2 separate regions of the Homo sapiens genome follow, and region 2 is linked to region 1. The links are contacts of gene promoters, found by promoter capture Hi-C in blood cells and fetal thymus (Javierre and others, 2016). All regions are on one chromosome and are shown on one strand. The core of a region is centred on a gene start or on the middle of the fragment in contact, and the rest is flanking DNA. Distances in the headings are between cores, read along the strand shown. Region 1 holds the start of SLC28A2 (solute carrier family 28 member 2). Region 2 has its middle 9.1 kb from the start of GATM.

Region 1 (3,866 bases), core at 1-2,500:
CAATCAGAGTGCAGGGAGGGGTCCTAAGTTTTATCCAGAGGGCGTCATAGGAAGCTTTCTTTCTTTCTTTCCAGGCCAGGATAAGTGTTACCAGCTCTGTAAAGTCTTTCTCTCCCTCTTTTTTTTTTTTTTTTTTTTTTTTGAGATGGAGTCTCGCTCACCCAGGCTGGAGTGCAGTGGCATGATCATGGCTCACTGCAACCTCTGCCTCCTGGGTTCAAATGATTCTCCTGCCTCAGCCTCCTGAGTAGCTGAGATTACAAGCCTGCACCACCATGCCCGGATAATTTTTGTATTTTTAGTAGAGATGGAGTTTCGCCATGTTGGCCAGGGTGGTCTCGAGCGCCTGACCTCAAATGATCCGCCTGCCTCTGCCTCCCAGTGTGCTGGGATTACAAGCGTGATTCACCGCGCTCGACCTGCAAAGCCTTTCTTGACACATCCGTCTTTCCTCACTGATCTGTTCGTTTTTTGATGGCAGAGACCTTGTCTCACTCATTTTTATGTCCTCACACGGAAAACGGTGGCTGGCTAATAGTGGTTACTCAATAAGTATTTGTTGAATGGATTAATAAAATAATTCCTAGCAGTCATTTGGCATGGAATCATGTACAGTCGTGCTGTTTATTGTTTTCTAGGGCATGTCTTTCCAGCACAAAATGATGGTAAATTTTCTGGGTGCAGAGACGGCTCTTACTGTATTTTACAGGCTACCCAGTGCCTAGTCCAGTGGTGGGTAATGCTTACAGGAATGTACCTGTTAGAAGTTCTTACAGAATTCTTTTGTTTTGTTTTGTTTTCTGACAGGGTCTCACTCTGTCGCCCAGGCTGGAGTGCAGTGGCGCAATCACAGCTCACTGCAACCTCCACCTCCAGAGGCTCAAGGGATCCTTCCACCTCCGCCTGCCGAGTAACTGGAACCACAGTCGTGTGCCACCGCGCCCAGCTAATTTTTGTATTTGTTGTAGAGATGTGGTTTCGCCATGTTATCCTGGCTGGTCTCAAGCGATCCGCCCGTCTCGGCCTCCCGAAGTGCTGGGATTACGGGCGGGCGCCACCTCTGCATAAGTCTTAGGCCTGCAAAACAGTCTTAAAAACATATAATATTTAACTTGAGAGGTGCAGTCCTCCTCTACATTGAGGGCAGGCTCAGCGAAGGAGGGCCCAAGACATAAAACTAACCAATGGCAGGAAAGCCCCCATGCCCCACCCAAGCTGCCCCTCCTCCCTCGCAGCTGAGCTTTTCTTTCAGTCCTTCACTGAGGAGCCAGAGGGAATCAATTCCACAAGCTGGGGTAAGTAAAGGTGTTTGGGGGAGGGCAGGTGCCTAATTTACAAATTTTTAAAGAGATCATATTTAAACTAAATGCAGGTAGTTTTGTGCCTAGTCAGGAAGGCCCTAATTTACACAATATAAGTTGGTTATGTGTGTTTAATGAAATTATACTTCAAATGCTTGAAGAGATCACATTTTCAAAAGCAATTCCATGGGGAAGGGAATTTTCTGCAAAGTAAATAAATATCTCAGAATGAACTTATATTCTAATTGTGAATGTCCATGTATTAAATTTGCTTATTCTGAGGCCCAAATGTTTGCTTATTTTGTTTAAAAACTTTACTTGGGATCATTAACATTCATACTAATTATTTTAAATGTAAGTTTTGTTAATTTCACTGATGAGTTCTCTCTGGGGCATAAAAAACCAATTCTTATGCTACATTATAGTCAGGAATTTGAAGGCCTGTAAATTGTTATCTGTTCAGCAATACTTTAGGGTCCGGGTCTTCCCAACTGCCTTCCTCCCTGTTTCCTTCTTACTCAGCAAGCTCAGTGGGGCCTCCCTGGGGCTAAAAGGAGTAGTTACCCTGTGACTCTTTCTTTGAGGGTCCAAGTAGGAACCTTTATAGCCCAGATCCTGGGGCCCTGGGCGGCCCACTGATTCATTTCAATTCCACTGCCTTTCATTTCTCTTCTCCTATCTTACTGCCTCTTCTTTAGCTATTCACAAGAGGAAATAGGATTTTATTTTTCATTATTTATTATATAAAAATTACACATCCAATCTTCTCAATTCTCAGTTCTTAAAGAAATCAACTAAGCCTTCAAAGACTTTTAGTTTTGCGTTTTCCATGGGTAACTGGTCCTAAAAATTCTCCCCATCCCCACAGAACAGAATGACCAATCTTTCAGGCTTGGCCCTGAATTTGTTTTTCAGTTGAGGAGAACAGGAGATGGAGAAAGCAAGTGGAAGACAGTCCATTGCTCTGTCCACAGTGGAGACTGGCACAGTGAACCCGGGGCTGGAGCTCATGGTAATCACCAGTTTAGTTTCTCTCTGCAGAGCTGTGGGCTGCTGCATGGGCTCCTGTAGGGTATTTGGCTGCTCTCAATCCCCATCATCCCTGGCAGGGCTCCATGACTGATCCCAATGCTCTCTGTGCTTGTAGGAAAAAGAAGTAGAGCCTGAGGGAAGCAAGAGGACTGACGCACAAGGACACAGCCTGGGGGATGGACTGGGCCCTTCCACTTACCAGAGGTACTGGTGTTTTGGAATCTTGTTCAGTTAGGAAAGGATCTAGGGTGGGCTGCCCCTTCAGGCAGCTTGTGGTATTATCACAACCGCTCCACCTTACCATGTGTACATATATATATGTATCTTACATAATTAATTAACTTAAACATGTGCCATAAACTCCATAAAAAAAAAGGAGTTCAGCAGTATCAGTGTTGGTTGGACTGAAAATAAAAATAATAACAATGGTAATAATGGCTAACAGATTTTGAGTGTATACTTACTATTTTGCAGATTGCTTTATGTTATACATTTATTTTCATTACAACAGGTAGGTATTCATTTTAATCCCTTTAGAAATTAATTTACCATATCATTAAAAAAACAGTAGCTCTTCTGGAATACTCAGATTTGGGAATGGTGGAGAGGAAGGGAAACCTGGGGAGAAAACACAGAAGGACTTATTATAAGGATAATAAAGACAGTAAAAAAGATCTTAGAAGTCAAAAGAGAAGAGTCTCAAGAATGAAGAAGGTACAGTCCACAGTGCTATGTGAACAGGGGTCTAGGAAGGAGGAGTGAGAAAAATCTTTGAATTTGTTTGTGGATCTGGTCCCAGAAGTAATGTCAAAGAAAATTGTTTGAGTAAAATAGATCATATGGAAAGAAGCAATGTTCCATGGTCTGGAAAACAGTGGGTATTTATAAAAGAGTGCAGAAGTCATACACTAAAAGCTGAGAAGAGGACATTGGATAGCTTCTAAAGGGAATACGGTCATGAGCTACATAATGATGTTTCAGTCAATGATGGACCGCATTATACAATGGTGTATAATCATGTATATCAACGGTGTATATCATTACACAACGGTGGTCCCATAAAATTATAATACTGTATTTTTACTGTGCCTTTTCTATGTTTAGATATGTTTAGATACACAAATACTTACCATTGTGCTATAGTTGCCTACAGTATTAAGTACAGAAACATGCTGAACAGATTTGCAGCCTAAGAATAATAGGATCCACCATATAGCTTGGATGTGTCGTAAGCTATACCATCTAGGTTTGCATAAGTACACTGTAAGATGTTAGCATAATTATGAAATTGACTAATGTTGAATTTATCAGAATGTATCCCTGTTGTTAAGTAACACATGACTATATATGGAGATGATTCAGAGCAGCTTCCAAACAAAAGGTTATTTTTATATTTTCTTCTCTTTATTTTTGAAAGTTACCTCAGTGACTTCTTAAAATTTTTAATTGTTTTATTCACAATTTGCTTCTCTCTAAAAATTTTTATATTATCATGTTTTATATATACTGAATTGACAGTAAATTCTTTGTAAG
Region 2 (3,829 bases), core at 1,017-3,516, 140 kb after region 1:
CACCAGAGACTTGGAATTGCAGTTGACAATGGACCTAAACAAACATACTTAATGAAGTAACTCTTATCTTTCACCAGTTTTATACCCCACCATATATCTCCTAGTGACTCCTCTAGAAAATTCACTGTCCCTAGCCAGATTGTCTTTGTCCTGTCATTTCTACTCAAATTTATTGTTCCTTGTCTAAAAAAGTATAAAAGCATCTTGCTTTGACTACTTCTTCACACTTCACTTTCCTGTGGAGATCCTTATGTACATGTAAAAGTAATAAAATTTGTACGCTTTTCTCTTGTTAATCTGCCTGCTCTCAATTTGGCCTCTACATCCAGCTAAAAAGCCCACTAAGAGCTAAAAGTGGGGTTGGAAGTGATCTCTGGCTTCCTCACAATATTAACTGAAAAATAACCGAATATGAAATTGTATGTACAGTATTCTCTGAACCATGTTGAACATATGTATGCACATAAAATTCTGGAAAGAAATTTACCAAAATTTAAATAGTGACAATCTTTGCGTGGAGATGTAATGGGTAACCTTTATATTCTTCTTTCTGCTTTTCTGCAATTTGTATACCTTTCTCTATGAGACTTTGCTACATTTATAATCAGAAAAAAACCCTAATCGCTATTATTTTTAGAAGCAAAAGGCCCTGTGTCTGCTTAGAAACAACTCTTGTTGTCACAGATATTTTCCCTTGCAGCTCTGCCCTAAGAAAACTGTAGATACTGCTCTGGGAGAAAACCTCCCACAGCCACCTGGCTCCTCTCATGTCCATACACGCTGTGATCTGGCAGAACAGGGAGATTAGCGTGGGAAGACACTTCTGCCTATCTCTCTGTTGTGCACTTTGCCCAGTTCTCAGTCTGTGCTTGCTATTTCGCTCCTGTCTGTCTCGCTTGTTGCTGGTAGGGAATTTTCCAGAATTATCATTCCCAGCAAAAGGCACTTCTCTAGCTGGGCCCTGGGAATTGAAGAAGTAACATTAGCCAGTTTTCTGCATCCCTCTCGAATATTCTTACTTGTCTTGGGCAACATCCCAGGAGGAAGCACTCATCTCCTCCACTTATGGTCATTTAAGTGACAAAACGTCCTCCATAGTCACGTTCTCCCTGCTAAAGAAAGGTCTGTTCAAATAGAATTATTCAGAATTTGCAAGCTTAGAATCAAAGTAGGGTCCAATATTGAACTTTTGCTTAGGAACTCTAAATTACTGTTTACCATGCTATTCAGAATTTAAAAGCAAAACTGAATACGAAGACCATATAAGACTATATATTGCAAAGGCTAAACTAGAAATATTCAGCTATAAGATGGAAATGGAATGACCTGTGAGGCATGAGGTTTTTATGAAGGCTTGATTTAGTAATGACAGACTATGTCAGCCAACACACTGCCTTTTCTGGAAAGTTATGTTGTTCATGTGACAGCAATTAAATCATTTCAGGGGACAGATTTCAGACATTCCCAAGAGAATGCATCTGCAACTTGAGATACTTGTGCTTTTCTGGCACAATTCTGTAGCAACCAAATTTCTGACTCTGCAGCCAATTTAGCACTGGGAAAATCCAGTAATTCCCAGATATTTACAAACAGCCAATGAAGATAAATGTTTACTAGTATAGGACTAATCCCTCATTGACTCTGATTAGATCAAACAGTACTATTTCATGGTATTCCTGTTTTTTTTTTTTTATGTCCAAACCTTCTGTAACATCTCCAGAAGAATGAAGCAACTTCTTCCTGTGTACCACAGCACACCTTGTTAATACTTTTTTTAGAGCACTTATACATGGCTGTAACAGCTTGTTTACATATCTCTTTCGCCAGACCTCTGGAGAGCAAGGGCTACAGCTCCTGTTGTACTTAGCACAGTGATTATCACTTAATAAATGTTTGTGGAATCAATTGCCTAGTCAAAGTTTTATTTTTTCCCTTGGAATTTGTACCTCACTTTAAAACAATATTTACAATGTTTGAGAGAGGCATATTTACAGAATTTTAAAACTAAGAGGGATCTTATTTTATAGTTGGGATAACCTCATGGCCCAAGGCTAAATGATTCATCCAAATTCACCACACTCTGCTGAGATAAATTCTCAGTGCAATTCTTTTTTCAAGAGTTAAGTGAACTTTTGGAAAACAGACTTTGATTTTATACTCTGGGAATTCAAATCTGAAAACCTTAAACTTCCAAGTCTAGCAAAATGGTGCTATAGGTCTCAAGAAGGGCTTTAAGTGTGATTATATTAATTTTTAAAAAATTAAAGACAGAATCTTGCTATGTTGCCCAGGCTGGTCTTGAACTCCTGGGCTCAAGTGCTCCTCCTGCCTCAGTCAGCCCCCCAGAGTGCTGAGATTACAGGCGTGAGGTACTATACCAGACTGATTAAGTGTGGATATCTTAAGTAGGTATTCTGCACAAGTCAGCCTTCTAAACTTGTGGAAGTCTGTCTGTACTTTAATATGTTAAAATAATTTTCATGAGTTTGTGGGAAATTTTGTTTTCTATCTGTTTTTGGATTTACAGAAAAGTTACAAAGATAGTACAGAGTTCCTGTACACCCATCGCCCTGTTTTGGTTTACCCTGTTATTGTCTTCCACAGCTAAGATACATTTGCTAAAACTAAGCTACCAACACTGTAAATCATTATTAACTAAACTCCAGACTTTACTTGGATCTTACCAGTTTTTCCACTAACATTCTTTTTCTGTTCCAATATCCAATCCAGGATACCACACTATATTTCGTTGTAATGTCTTCTGTGATTGCCTCTGCTCTCTGACAGTATCTTAGTCTTTCTTTGGTTTTTCAGGACTTCGTCAGTTTTGAGGAAAACTAATCAGATATTTTGTAGTCTATGCTTTGAACTGGGTTTATGTATTTCTCATGATTGGACTGGCATTATGGAGTTCTGGAAAGAATACTACCGAGATGATGTGCCCTTTTCATCGTATCGTATCAGGTAGTATGTAATATTCTCATATCACTGATGGTATTAACCCTGTCATTTGCTTAAGGTAGTGTCTGCCGGGTTTTTCCTCTGTAAAGTTGGTTGGTGTTTTTTCCTTTTCATACTTTATTCTTTGGAATTGAGTCTCCGAGACCAACTCCCCTGGAAAGGAAGAGGGGTTTACATACATATATTGCTTGGAATTCTTCTGCAAGGAAGATTTATCTCTTTTCCTCTCCTTATGGAAAATTTAGTTTGATAAGTAATAATTTTCTTAGTTGGAGGAAGTTAAAGTTATAATTGTGCAAGACAGTAACGTTTGGCAGATATAAAATAGTTGGAATATGAGTTTAAAAGATAAAGCCCTCCTTAGGGGATATCATCATGGCCAACACATTTCATATCAATAAACTTTCCAGACAACTGAAGCTTTTTCCTTTAACACTAAAAGTTTTTAAATATATAAACTTCTCCCATTTGTATGGCTGCCTTTCTAAGATGAATTAAATACTTTTCATCTTCTTGAACAGAATATCCTGAACACAATTTAACCTTTTTACAAAAATTGGTCATTATACTGAAATTCACAGCAGTGATGACGGTTGAACTTGATGACCTCTAAGGTTTCTTCCAATCCAAGTTTCTATGGTTTGATAACTATCCAACAAAATTAATGAAGCTATGCTCCCAAATAATCAAAGACTTCTTGTTTTTGCAGGGTTTTTTGTTTTGTTTTGTTTTTTAGACAAAGTCTTGCTCTGTTGCCCAGGCTGAAGTGCAGTGGCACAATCTGGGCTCACTGCAAGCTCCACCTCCCAGGCTGAAGTGATCCTCCCACCTCAGTCACCTGAATAGCTGGGACAGCAGGTGCATGCCA

Evidence for each region. Contacts are between HindIII fragments. The CHiCAGO score rates a contact against its expected background, and 5 or more counts as called.
Region 2: a fragment that was not itself captured here is called in contact with the fragment with the promoter of SLC28A2 in region 1 in 4 of 17 cell types (M2 macrophages, M1 macrophages, naive B cells and 1 more); the score reaches 6.6 in M2 macrophages.

What each region holds. Positions count from the first base shown.
Region 1 is chr15:45,250,984-45,254,849 of GRCh38, forward strand. SLC28A2 (solute carrier family 28 member 2) reads left to right here and starts at 1,251. Exons shown (of 18, transcript NM_004212.4): 1 at 1,251-1,295; 2 at 2,217-2,313; 3 at 2,449-2,537. The coding sequence starts at 2,233. SLC28A2-AS1 (SLC28A2 antisense RNA 1) reads right to left here. Exons shown (of 5, transcript NR_120335.1): 4 at 2,883-2,951; 5 at 598-1,089. The HindIII fragment of the contact is 6,298 bases long and covers 53-3,866 here.
Region 2 is chr15:45,385,768-45,389,596 of GRCh38, forward strand. It overlaps a transcript of GATM not described here. Among named protein-coding and RNA genes, the nearest start is that of GATM, 9.1 kb to the left of the region's middle. The HindIII fragment of the contact is 2,225 bases long and covers 1,155-3,379 here.